3 separate regions of the Homo sapiens genome follow, and regions 2 and 3 are each linked to region 1. Evidence: promoter capture Hi-C in 16 types of primary human blood cells and fetal thymus (Javierre and others, 2016). All regions are on one chromosome and are shown on one strand. Each heading gives the region's core, a stretch centred on a gene start or on the middle of the fragment in contact. The rest is flanking DNA. Distances are from core to core; before and after follow the strand shown.

Region 1 (3,973 bases), core at 373-2,872:
TGACTACACAGTTGTAAATTTCAGCTGAAAAGATGTCTGGAGGTTGAAGAAAAATACAGTGAGCTTATTGTTTGAAAATTCAACTACCATATTGTTTAAAAATCAAAAAGTTCCCAAGGTTTCCGGAATTTTCAGACACGAATGTAAACTAACTCTCTCTTACGTGGCTCTGTATTAGCTACAAGCTCATGTCTATGTATGTAAGAGTAATTTTTATGTAAGAGTAATTTTTAAAACATCTGGGAGACTGAGGAGGTATGAAAACTAAAGGCAATGTGGTAACTTGGGGCCGGATCCTGGAACAAAAGAGGACAGTAATGGGAAACTGGATAAAATCCCGTGAAGTTTGAAGTTTAGTTAAGAGTAACGGACCAGTGTTGGTTTTTAGTGGCGACAAATGTCCCATAACAATGTAAGATGTTAACAATAGGGAAAACGGGGTGAGAGAAATACAGGAACTTTTTGTACTATCTTTGCAACTTTCTGTAAATCCCAAACTAGTCTCAAATAAAAAGTATATTTTTTTAAATATGGAAGGTTCTACCCAGACTCAGCAACAGGAGAGGCCCAGAGAGGGAGAGAGGACTAGACTTCAGGGGCTGGGGGAGGGTTAAGGGGCTTCGGTCTTACCTATAACAGGATAAATATTTGTGTTAAGTCGAATGTATTCAGCTATTCCTTATGCAATTCAAGTTAACTTAAAAAATATTTTATGAAAAGGAGAGCTACAGCTATCTCCTTGATTTGAGGCTGTCTTTACTTTTTCTCCTAAATCACAGATGCTCAATGGAGCTGGAAAACCTTTGGGACCAGGAGGCTGTGACATCTGACCCTGGCTCCGTTCTGTCCAGGCTGTGGGACCTCAGGGGAAGGTAGAGACTTCATAGGCCTCAGTTTCTCCCTGGCAAATGAAATTACTAAGCCCACCGACCCCCGTCTTCCAGACGGGGAATCCCGGGGTGGGTGGTTCCAGGGCATGATCAAGACATCCCCCAGGGGCTCTACACTCCGCTGGCTCAACACTCCCATCTGTGTAATGGGTTGAGGAGCGAGGCTATCCCTATAGGACTGCCGAAAGCAAGGCAGGGTTTGACAGCGCGTAGGTGGGTGCCAGGTGCAGGCAGAGGCTGGAGAGTGGAGAGCGCTTCTTCCACCCGGGCCACGCAGAGGCTGTCCCCGCACGGCTCCCCACCCACAAACCCTCGGTCCTCACCTGAAACCCCCTCCTAGGTCCCTGCCGTCGCGCTAAGGGCCAGACTCGGACTTGTCGCGGTGGGCGATTCGCCCCGGGGGACCTACCGGACCCCGCACCTTCCCACCTTGCACCTTCTTGGCAGGGGGAGCACGGCCTGGCCCCCTCACCCACGTGCGGGGCCCCGGGACTCCCACCTCCGAGGGTCTCGCCTTGCCCGGGATACTGGAGCGGGACTCGGGCCGGGCCGGCCGCGGGCTCCGAGACCCTTGGGCTGCAGCCCGGGCGGGAGCCGCCCCCTTTGTCTGGCGGGGCCGAGCGGAGCAGGACACTCACCGCGTGCGGCGGCGGCTCAGTAGCAGCAGCAGCAACAGTGCGGCCAGGAGGCCGAGGAGCGCGGCCCAAGCCATCGCGGGGCTGGCGGGGCTGGCGGGGCTGGCGGGGCTGGCGGCCTGGCCCACTCCCAGGTAAAGTTCCCCGCCCCCACCCGGCGCGCCCCTCCCACTCCGCCCACCCCAGCCCGCTTTGGGGCGGGGTGGGGGGGGTGGGGGATGGGGCCCTCCGAGGTCCGCAGGGGTCGGACCGGGGCGCTCTGTTAGAAACCCTGCTCCCCCCAGCTCAGGCCTGATGGAAAATGTGGGAGGGAGGGGAGGGGAGAAGGAGGGGGAGGGGGAGGGGGCGGAAGGGATGTGGTGGGCTGGGGAGTGATCAAGGGGAAAGGAGATAGATGGGGGACTGAGGGGGATGTGGTGGACTGGGGGGTGATGGAAGGGAGGGGAGAGGGAGAGGATTTACAGGAAGGAAGAGATTATATGCGGGGAGGGAAGAGGGATGGGGAAGATGGGAGAGGACTTTTGGGGAAGGGAAGAGGAGGGAATGTGGGAAGACGGCGGGACGATGGGGAAACAGCCAAGGAGGTATGGGGAGGAGGGGGCACAGTGGGAGGAGAAAATGTGGTGGGAGGGGACGAACATGGAGGAGGAGTGTAAGGGGGTCAGGAGGAGCTTTCCCACCACATTCCACATTCCACCTAGACAGAGGAAACCCCCCAAGGCTCCTCCTCACCCCATCCCCCACCCCAGGCGTGCTGGGGACCTGGAGTTTTCCATTCTGTGGTCTGGGCTGGGAGGGCTGGTCTGGATTATATCGCACCCTATAGTATCTTCAGTAACTACTGGGCAGGGGGTACAAGGGTGTCTCAGGGAGTCCCCTCATCCTCACCTGCTTTGGGGACAGATAGTGCCCGTGAAGTATGCACCCTCTACCTGGTGCACGTTAGGGCCTCCGGATGTGGTGGCCATTGTCATCGCTACCTGGTGCTTGGGGTGCCAGCCCCCTGTGCCCGCGGCTCTGCAATGTACCACCCCAGGGTGCTGATGAGAACTGGGGGTCAATCCAGCCTCACTCCACGCCCCTGCCCCCACCATCCCCATTCCCACCCTGGGAAGCGTTGGGCAGGTAGCTCAACCTCTCTGAGCTCACCTCATTATCTGGAAACAGGGAGGGCAGAGTTGTGCTTACCTCTGGGGCTGTTGTGAGGAAGTGATGAGAGCTTGACACTAAAAGGAATCACAAACTGTTGAGTGCTTGGCACACTAAGTTTTATGAAACCATGGGCTGAACCTGGAGGTAAGACCCAGGAGGTCTTGTTCTAGTCCTGTATCCACCCATTCAGTGCCGGGTGAGCTTAGGCACGTTTCATTCCATAGTCCCAGCAGAGCTCTGGAGAAGCTGTTGCTCCTCCTGGTCTCCTGGCTTCCATCCTTATCAGCCAGGGTCCTGACAAGGCCCTTCGAGAACCAGCATGATCCGCCCCTTCTCACCTTTACCTGCCTGACCCTATGCCCCCGACTCTCTCCCTCACCCACTCTGCTCCAGCCACACTGATCTCCCCATCTTTCCCTAGAGGTCCCACTGCAGGGCCTTTGCACGTGCTGTTCCCTCTGTTCGGAGCATTCTTCGCACAGCCTGCTCTTTCCACCACCTCCCCGGTGCCTCTATCTCTGCTCAGCTGTCACTGCAGAGAAGCTGTCTTTGGCCACCTGGTCTAAAACAGTCATCTCCTCTTACTGATTTTTGTTTCTTTGTTTTTTTGATAGTTTTTTTTTCTGGCAGTACTTCACATGTCCTGCTATCATACTCAAGATTCATTCATTTGCCTGCTTAATGTTGGCTGTCGAGGCAGCTGGATGACCCCCTTGTGGCCTCAGCAGATTCAGAACAGCAGGAGGCAAAAGGAGTTTTCTGATCCTCTTGTTTATTTTTCCAGCTTATCTGCCAGAGAAGCCAACAATCCCAAGAAGGCCATAGAACGGGTCCAGAGGATTTTCTCCAAATTTGGGGAGCTCCAAAGGGCTGTCTGCTAGCAGTGGGGTTCACAGCTGGGCTTGGCCGATCCTCAGCTTTGTGACCCCAAGCAGACTGCTCCACCTCCCTAAGCTGAGGTTCCTCATTGACAGAATGGGGAAAAGAGAACCTCATGGAGTTGAGGTCAGGAACAAACGACCTGGTCCATGGGGCACACCTATGTGAGTGCCTGTCACACCATGAGCATCAGGGAAAGTTAACCGCAATTAGCGCTTATACCAGTTCCGCTCCTCTCCATTATCTGTGATCAGGCTTGGTCTCAATTTTCCCATCTGAAAAATGGGAAGAACAGTTCCTTCCTCATGGGGCTGCTTTGAGAACTGAATTAAATGAAAAGAGAATGAAATCACCCAGCACAGGGTCTGGTATACAATAGGTACTCAATAAATATTAGTTCTTCTACTCCCCACCCCT
Region 2 (3,973 bases), core at 461-2,960, 250 kb before region 1:
TCCTGGTAAAGGCTCCTCCAGAGTGGTACCCACAGCGCTCTATTAAGGGCTATTTTAGTTGAGTCATTAGTGGGAAGGACGCTGCCTATCCCCTCCCCCCCCGCCACCCCACTCCCTTCTTCTAGAGATGGAGCCTTGCTCTGTCGCCCAGGCTGGAGTGCCGTGGTGCGATCATCATTCACTGCAGCCTCGAACTCCTGGGCTCAAGCGATTCTTCTGCCTCAGCCTCCCAAGTAGCTGGATGACAGGCACGCACCACCATGTCTGGCTCTCTATCCTTTTTAAATCCCAGAAGTAAAGTTTTCACACCCACTGGAGACAAAAAAAAAATCTAAATTCTGTCACCCTGTAAAACGGTTATGACCCAACTTTCCTATGTCAGGGAGGAAAGTGATTGATTGGGCCCCTCTACCGTGTGATATCACTAGAGCTTCCTTCAGAAATTTGTTTTAAAAGACAGAGAGGGCGCTTTTAAAAAAATGCATAATGGGTCGGGCACAGTGGCTCATGCTTGTAATCCCAACACTTGGGGAGGCTGTGGGAGGATCATTTGAGGCCAGGAGTTCGAGACCAGCCTGGGCAATATTGGAAGACCCAGTCTCTACAAAAAATTAAAAAAAAATTAGCCTCAAATGGTGATGACTGCCTGTAGCACCAGCTACTCAGGAGACTGAGGTGGGAGAATCACTTGAGCCCAGGAGGTTGAGCCTGCAGTGAGCTATGATTATGCCACTGCACTCCAGCCTGGGTGACAGAGCGAGATCATGTCTCAAAAATAAATAAATAAATAAATAAATAAATAAAAATGTAAGGGACCTAACATCCATTAATCACCTATCCCTCTGTGCCCAGAAGCTGGGCTGGATGTCCCCTGGAACCTGAATACATTCTCCCTGCCCTCTGGGGTTCAGGTATGGAATAACATCCCTGTTTAGCAGTCAAGAAAAGCAAGGCTCAGAGAGGAGAGGGCTTTGGGCAGTCAAGAATTCCCAGCCAGTGGAGGAGCTGGGTCTGATTCTGAGTCTTCTAGCTCCTTGCTGCCAGGAGTGGCCAACGTTGGAAATTCAGGCAGCAGTGAGATGAGAAAGTAATTTTGGATGTGGTGTCTTCTCAAGCCATAGGCAAAAGAGAACTCCTTCCAGATTAAATTTGGGGAAGGACTGCCTGGGGGTGCTTTTGTACTGGTTGGTTTTCTGTGTAGAGAGTTCATGCAGCCGCGGGTCTGTACTGATTGGAGCTGAAGTCCCAGGTTAGCACCACCAACAGGGGCTCCCCTGCCACAGCGCAGGAGTGGGGGCCCAGGATGGGTCCAGGCAAAGGCATCAGTGATACTTTCTCATGGTCTGACCGACACCCACAGAATCACACAATGTTAGCCCCTCCCAAGAGATGTCCTTTCTATACGGAGTGGGGGCTGGAGGAACCAGGAGCCTCAAAGCTTTGCTTTCACCTTTGTTTTGCTCTTTTGGGATCTGCCTCCTTATCTGGAGCAGGGTCTTGTGAAGAGACGCAGGGAAAAGTTCACTTTCCACCTCCCAGGGGAGCAGGCAGGAGGGGACTAGTTAGGAGGCAAAAGATGTAGAGAAGTATTTGCTTTTTTCATGGGCTATTTTTAGGAGATAAAGTCAACTGCCTTAAGTGATCAATTGTAATAGAGGGAGATGTTGAAGATGACTTAAAAAACAAACAAAATCCGCAAACAACAAATCTAATATTTATGAAATACCAAATGTCAGGAAGGTACTATTTTAAGTGCTTGAAGTAAATTGTCTCATTTAAGCCTCATAATAACGCTATGGAACAGTGTTATCATGTCTGTTTTACAGATGAGGAACTAAGGCACAGAGAGGTTAAGTGACGTGTTCTGGGTTGCACAGCTCTTAAACAGCAGATCTGGGATTTGCACTCCAGCAGTCTGACTCCAGATCTCAATATTGTATAGCAGCTCAAGGGTGGCAGAGACTCAAGAATGTTAGGAGAGGGAAGCTTGAGTCTACAGGTGTAAGGAGACCCCTTGACATCTTCCCCATTTAGTTCAATTAAAATTTTCTTTTTTTTTCTTTTTCTTTCTTTCCTTCCTTCTCTCTTTTCTTTTCTTTTTCTCTCTCTCTTTCTTCCTTCCTTTCTTTTTATTTTTCAGGGTTTCACTGTGTCACCCAGGCTGGAGTGCAGTGGTGCAATCATGGCTCACTGCAACCTCTGCCTCCCAGGCTCAAGTGATCCTCCTACCTCAGTCTCCTGAGTAGCTGGGACTACAGGTGTGGGCCACCACACCCAGCTTTTTTTTTTTTTTTTTTTTTTTTTTTTTGTATTTTTTGTAGAGATGGAGTTTTACCATCTTTTCCAGGCTGGTCTCAAACTCCTGGGCTCAAGCTATCCTCCAGCCTTGGCCTCCCAAAGTGCTGGAATTACCAGTGTGAGCCTCCACACCCAGCCTCAATTACAATTGGTGGCCACCTTCTGTGTGCCCAATTCAGCTAGAAGCACTGGGGGATGGAAGCAAGGCTGGAGTTCTGGTACCCCTCAAGCTTATTGTCTATTTTTGGGAGACAAGGTAGTTGGGAAAGGAATAAATAATTTCAGTCTGAGCAAGGTGAAGCTTGGAAATGATTGGTGAGGATGGTGTGGAGGCAGGGAGAGAGTGGGGCTGGAGTGATTAGTAAGGCCTTGAAAGATAGACACCACTGTATTTTCCAAGTTATTTACAGAATGTTTCCATGTATTCTATACTTCTTAAATATCATCTCAACCCTGTATGGTTGATGTCCCTACATATACACTTATGTGTTTCCTGTAGACTTAGTACTCTTAGGGTTGTGACACAATTTAACTTAAGTTAACAAGGATATTTATTGGCTTAGGTAACTAAAGAACAACCCAGGGATTCCAGAGCTTCAGGCATGACTGGATCCAGGGGCTCCAAGGATGTCATCAGGACTCTATCTCTTTCCATTCTTCGGCTTTTCTTGTGTTAACTTCATTTACAGGCATGCTGTCACCAAGTGGTAGCAAAGCTAGTGGTCAAAGACAGTAGCTGTAAACTGCCATCCTTAATGGATTGAGAGCATTTTTCCCCAGTTCCAGCCAAAATCCCAGGGCTGGTTCTCATGGGCTCAGTTTGGATTAAATGGTCATTGCTGACCCAATCAATCACTGAACCCAGGGAGAAGGAATATATCAACTGGCCATGTGGGGGTCACCTGCCTCATACCAGGAACGAGAGGGTGCGATCAGCCCTGTCCAAACCATGTGGATTGAGAGTGGGGAGTTTTGGTTTCTCAGAAGAAAACTGAGGTGGTATTCCCAGAAGATGGGGGAAAGGAGGCTGGGAGGGTACTACTCAGCTGTGGGAGACCACGTGCTTTGGGAAACTTTGGGTAAAGTGTGCTGAGATGTTGAATAGGAGGAGGGCACGGTAAATGACTGTGGATGAGTTGCAGGAAAATGTAGATTTTTAGCCACTGAGCTTGGGGGTCTCCATCTATGATCCACTGTCAAAAAAGATCCTTCGTGAACCCCCTCAATAGGAGATGGGAACCACTGAGGGATTTCAGGGAACAGGCCAGAACTGTATTCTAGAAAATCCTTTTGGTAGACAATAAGGAGGGCAGATGGTAAGGAGGCTGGGCAGTGTGGTTCAGAGGAGAAAGCGGGGTTTGGATAATGCAGAAAGACATTCCTTGGCTGGGCCCCGTGGCTCATGCCAGCATTTTGAGAGGCTGAGGTGGGTGGATCACAAGGTCAGGAGTTTGAGACCAGCCTGGCCAACATAGTGAAACCCTGTCTCTACTAAAAATACAAAAATTAGCTGGGTGTGGTGGCACGTGCCTATAGTCCCAGCTACTCCGGAGGCTGAGGCAGGAGGATCGTTTGAACCTGGGAGGCGGAGGTTGCAGGGAGCCGAGATGGTGCCACTGCACTCCAGCCTGGGCGACAGAGAGAGACTCCATCTTAAAAAAAAAAAAAAAAAAAA
Region 3 (3,973 bases), core at 673-3,172, 220 kb before region 1:
GTACAGTTCAATTCTTTTCAGTATATAGAAAAAATTGTACAACCATCACCACAGTCCAATTTAGAGCATTTTTATCCTCCTCTGAAAGAAACCCTGTACTCGTTAGCAGCCTCTCCTTCCTCCGACCCCTCTAGCCCTCAGCAATCACTAATCTTTTTCTGTCTTTATGGATTTGCCTATTCCGGACATTTCATATAAATGGAATCACACAATATGTGGTCTTTCGTGACTAGCTGCTTTCACTTGGCAGAATGTTTTCAAGGTTCTCCCATCTTGTAGCCTGGATCAGTACTGGAGTCAGTTATTTAATGCTACATCCTGGGTTCGGGTAAAACGACCTAAAATGTGAGTCCCCCGCTTCAGGAAGCGCCGCTGTAATGAATAAAGAACCTTTTGGGGGAATCATAGCTCAATCTCTTCCTGGTTCTAAGCGGGCAGGTTCAGGCTTCCCTGCGGTGGGGTTGGAGCAGGAGGTTTATCTTTCAGCTGTCCTTGGGACTGGGCAGGAACTTGTTCAAATGTTACTGCTACTCTATCCTCCTTCCTAAATCAGGACTCTGGACGCTCCTGGGAATCACTGTCTGTTGCTGCTCTCTGGGAGTGTGAATGAATCACTGGGTGAGAATGTCAGTAGCACCTGTGTGTGCTGGTCTGGGGCGAGAATCCTGGGCCAAGGGGCAGCGGAGGGGAGAAAGAAGCAGATGGCCACGAGGCCAGCAAGGGGCTGTCCGACTCGTACCCCACAGCCAGCATTCCCTGCCTCTACCCGTACACTTGTTTTGGCTGCAGGAAGCTGTTTTAGGTGGAAATCATTTGATGTGTGTAGGTGCTGTCTTCCCAAACACACCGTGCTCGACAATTGCCCCAGCTCTGCAGGATAGACTTTTTGTAGCTCTTGGTAGCTACCCATTTTTTCAGCCTCTAAATAGTGGTGGTGCCTGTTTTAATCCTCTCATGGATCGTGTAAAGTAGGTGATCTTTTCCCCATTCACAGATGGGAAACTGAGCTTCAGGATAGTCACATGACTTGTCCAAGTTCTCATGATTAGGAAACGTTGGAGCTGGGCTTTGAACTGGACTGCAAAGCTTGTGCTCTTGACGAAATAGGAAGGCAGAGGCTGTGGTGGGGAGCAGCTTGGTTATGGGTACCCAGAAGGCAGAGCCGTTTCTTGCGTACCATAAAATGGGACATTTACCTTGGGTACTCCCTTTGGAGTGTGTTGCTGGAACTTGTGCAGGGACTTAGGGAATCTTCTGGGGAAGAGGCCAGCAATGTGTTGGGGATGGAGACGAGGAGCACTCAGTGTTATGTTTTGGAGCCTTGTCCTACACCTGAGGACCTCCAAGTCTATCAGTCAAGGCCCTTTGGGAAATGAGTGAAAGAACTCAACCAGCTCGAGCAAGGATAATTTATTGACTCATGTAAAGAAAATATCCAGGATAAGACTGCCTTCAGGTATGGCTGGATCCAGGGGTTTAAAGGTTGAAGCCACTGCCTCACTTTCTTTTGGCCTTGCTCTCCTCTCTGTTGACTTTGTGCTTAGGTAGGCATCCTGTGGTGGCACTAATGGCTGCCAGCAGCTCTAGGCTTTCTTCCTCCCCATTCTGCATCACAAAGCTGAAGACAGCATCTCACTTCCAATGGTCTCAGTCTCAGCTACAGGTCTGGGGTTGCTGCTTATTGACCAGGCTCATCTCACACCCCTGGTTCATATTCCTGAATCAATGGGTGGGGGGAGGGTGGGGGAATGCACTGTTTTGATTGGCCGGTGCTGGGTCAGGTGCATATCCTTGGAAGTGGAGGCATGGTCAGTCCTACTTGAACCACGTGAACCAAGAAGGAAAACTCGGGACCCTTGTATCAGAAGCAATGGGAATGGATGCTGGGAATGTTTCAGGCCACAGACATCCTCCTCGTGGGTGGCAGAGAAGCCACCATTCATCTCTGTGGCTTTGCTGCCAACTTGCCATGGGACCTTGAGCAAGCCACTTCCCTTCTCTGAGCCTCAGTTTCCTCATCTGAACAGCGATGATCTTTAAGGGCCCATACAGCCCTGAACTTTTGAGGCCAACAGGGTTTGTCTAGCCAACAGCCTGGCATCCTAGCTTGACAGGTCCAAGCTAAGGCTTAGGAATGCATGGCCTTCAGAAACCCTGGGGTCGAACCTGGGGCTGGGCGCCTGGCCTCTTGTTCTTGCCCATCCTGGCAGGGTACAGCCTGTGATGTGGGAGGGAAGGGTTCTGAGGAGGTTTCTTTGCACATCCCCAGCATTCTCCGTCTATAATTGGCTCCAAATGAAATGATCTCATCCCTGAACACTGAGGAAGAAAGGGTGGGGGTGAAGCTGCTCGCTGGCAGCATCTGACATAGTTTATGACTAACCCGCTTCCCTCCCGAGGCAGGGAGAGACGGTCCGCTCTCTCGAAGACAATGTACAATTTTGAAAAAAAAAATAAAAAAGTCTTGGTAAATAGATTGAGGAGGCTCCAGCCTCCTGGGCTTTTGGGAGGCCCAAGGCATTTTTCCCCTCTGCCCAAACCAGGTATCTTTTGCCCATTGCTCACAAGTCAACGTGACCCGTGCTATTACCATTCCCCAAACTTTTCACGTCAAACCCTGGCCGGGAAGGTGGTCAATGTAGCCAGTCCATCAAGCGATTTGTCCCATATGGATTCTCAATTGAGTTTTGTGGCCGGCTGGAGCTTGTTTAAATGCCCATACATTAATTTTGAAAGATGAGCTCCTAATCAACTTTTAAAAAGCTTGTCACAGCACCATCTGTTTGGCGTTTGTCACTATTGCATTACATAAGAGGAAAGACATTTTTAAAGAATGCGGCTACATTTAGTAATTGGATCGCCGGAGAGAAGCCAAACCGGGGCGGATGGCACCGTGATTCAGAAATGCCACGGGCCCTTCTCCGGGGTGTGGCGGCCTCCCCAAATTCCACGCGGTCTTGGCAGAGACCTGAGTGCAGCCCAGCTTGGGAGACAGGCTTGGGGTGGCTTCTTTTCCTCTTGCCTTGGTCTTCCTCTTATTTTTTCCATTTGTTCTCCCTCACCCCTTGCTACCCCAGTATTAGCAGTGACCAAGTGGCTTTACTTCCCTGAGTCCCAATTTCCTCATCTGGAAAATGGGATTCACAAGAGCACCATCTTGTGAGGTTTAAATGCATTAATGCCTACGGTGCCTGGCACGTGGTGAGTGCTTTATAAAGTGTTGCTATTTTATAAAGCTATGTCTGATGCATAGTAGGTGCCAACACATGTTCATTTTCCTTCCTTTTTCCCTTCCCTTTATTTATTTATTTATTTAGAGACAGGGTCTTGCTCTGTTGCCTAGGCTGGAGCACAGTGGTGCAATCTCAGCTCACTGCGGCCTTCACCTCCCAGGTTCAAGCAATTCTCCCACTTCAGCTCCCTGAGTAGCTGGAACTACAGGCATGCACCACCACACCTGACTAATTTTTTGTATTTTTTTTGGTAGAGACGGGGTTTCACCATGTTGGCCAGGCTGGTCTGGAACTCCTGACCTCAAGTGATCCATCAGCCTTGGCTTCCCAAAGTGCTGGGATTACAGGCGTGGGCCACCGTGCCCGGCCCCTTCCTTCCATTTAATTCAACAAGTTCTTAGGAAGTGCCCACGTTTGAGGCAGAGCTGGCATCATGCACATGCACAGCCATTTGCACAGGGCCCCACACTCACAAGAATGCTGAGCTTGGTTTAGCGTTCTGCTGTCGCTGGCTTGACATTCTTAATTTTTGAACAAGGGGCCCTGCATTTTCATTTTGTACTGGACCCCACAAATTATGCAGCTGGTCTCATCTGGAGGTCTAGAATGATGCTATGTCTTATTTGACCGTCTGATATTTAAAATAACAATAGAGTCAACGTTTTAAAATCAGGAGAGTTCACACAACAGTCTGGCTTATTTTAGAAAATTAGAACATCTTGCCACTGTGAGTCTGCATT

The links. The method cuts DNA at HindIII sites, captures the fragments that hold promoters and counts their contacts. A CHiCAGO score of 5 or more calls a contact.
Region 2: a fragment that was not itself captured here is called in contact with the fragment with the promoter of PTGIS in region 1 in 1 of 17 cell types (endothelial precursors); the score reaches 5.4 in endothelial precursors.
Region 3: a contact is called between a fragment that was not itself captured here and the fragment with the promoter of PTGIS in region 1, in 3 of 17 cell types (M2 macrophages, M0 macrophages and M1 macrophages). The highest score is 7.0, in M2 macrophages.

Annotation. Positions count from the first base shown.
Region 1 is chr20:49,566,515-49,570,487 of GRCh38, forward strand. PTGIS (prostaglandin I2 synthase) reads right to left here and starts at 1,623. Exons shown (of 10, transcript NM_000961.4): 1 at 1,529-1,623. The coding sequence starts at 1,602. LOC101927486 (a long non-coding RNA gene) reads left to right here and starts at 1,530. Exons shown (of 2, transcript XR_244188.4): 1 at 1,530-1,659. RefSeq lists enhancers at 1,923-2,539, 2,540-3,154. The HindIII fragment of the contact is 14,656 bases long and covers 1-3,973 here.
Region 2 is chr20:49,319,667-49,323,639 of GRCh38, forward strand. No RefSeq gene overlaps it. Among named protein-coding and RNA genes, the nearest start is that of SNORD12, 41 kb to the left of the region's middle. The HindIII fragment of the contact is 548 bases long and covers 1,437-1,984 here.
Region 3 is chr20:49,342,878-49,346,850 of GRCh38, forward strand. The region is part of intron 2 of LOC105372649 (a long non-coding RNA gene); the gene reads left to right. Among named protein-coding and RNA genes, the nearest start is that of SNORD12, 64 kb to the left of the region's middle. The HindIII fragment of the contact is 1,677 bases long and covers 1,085-2,761 here.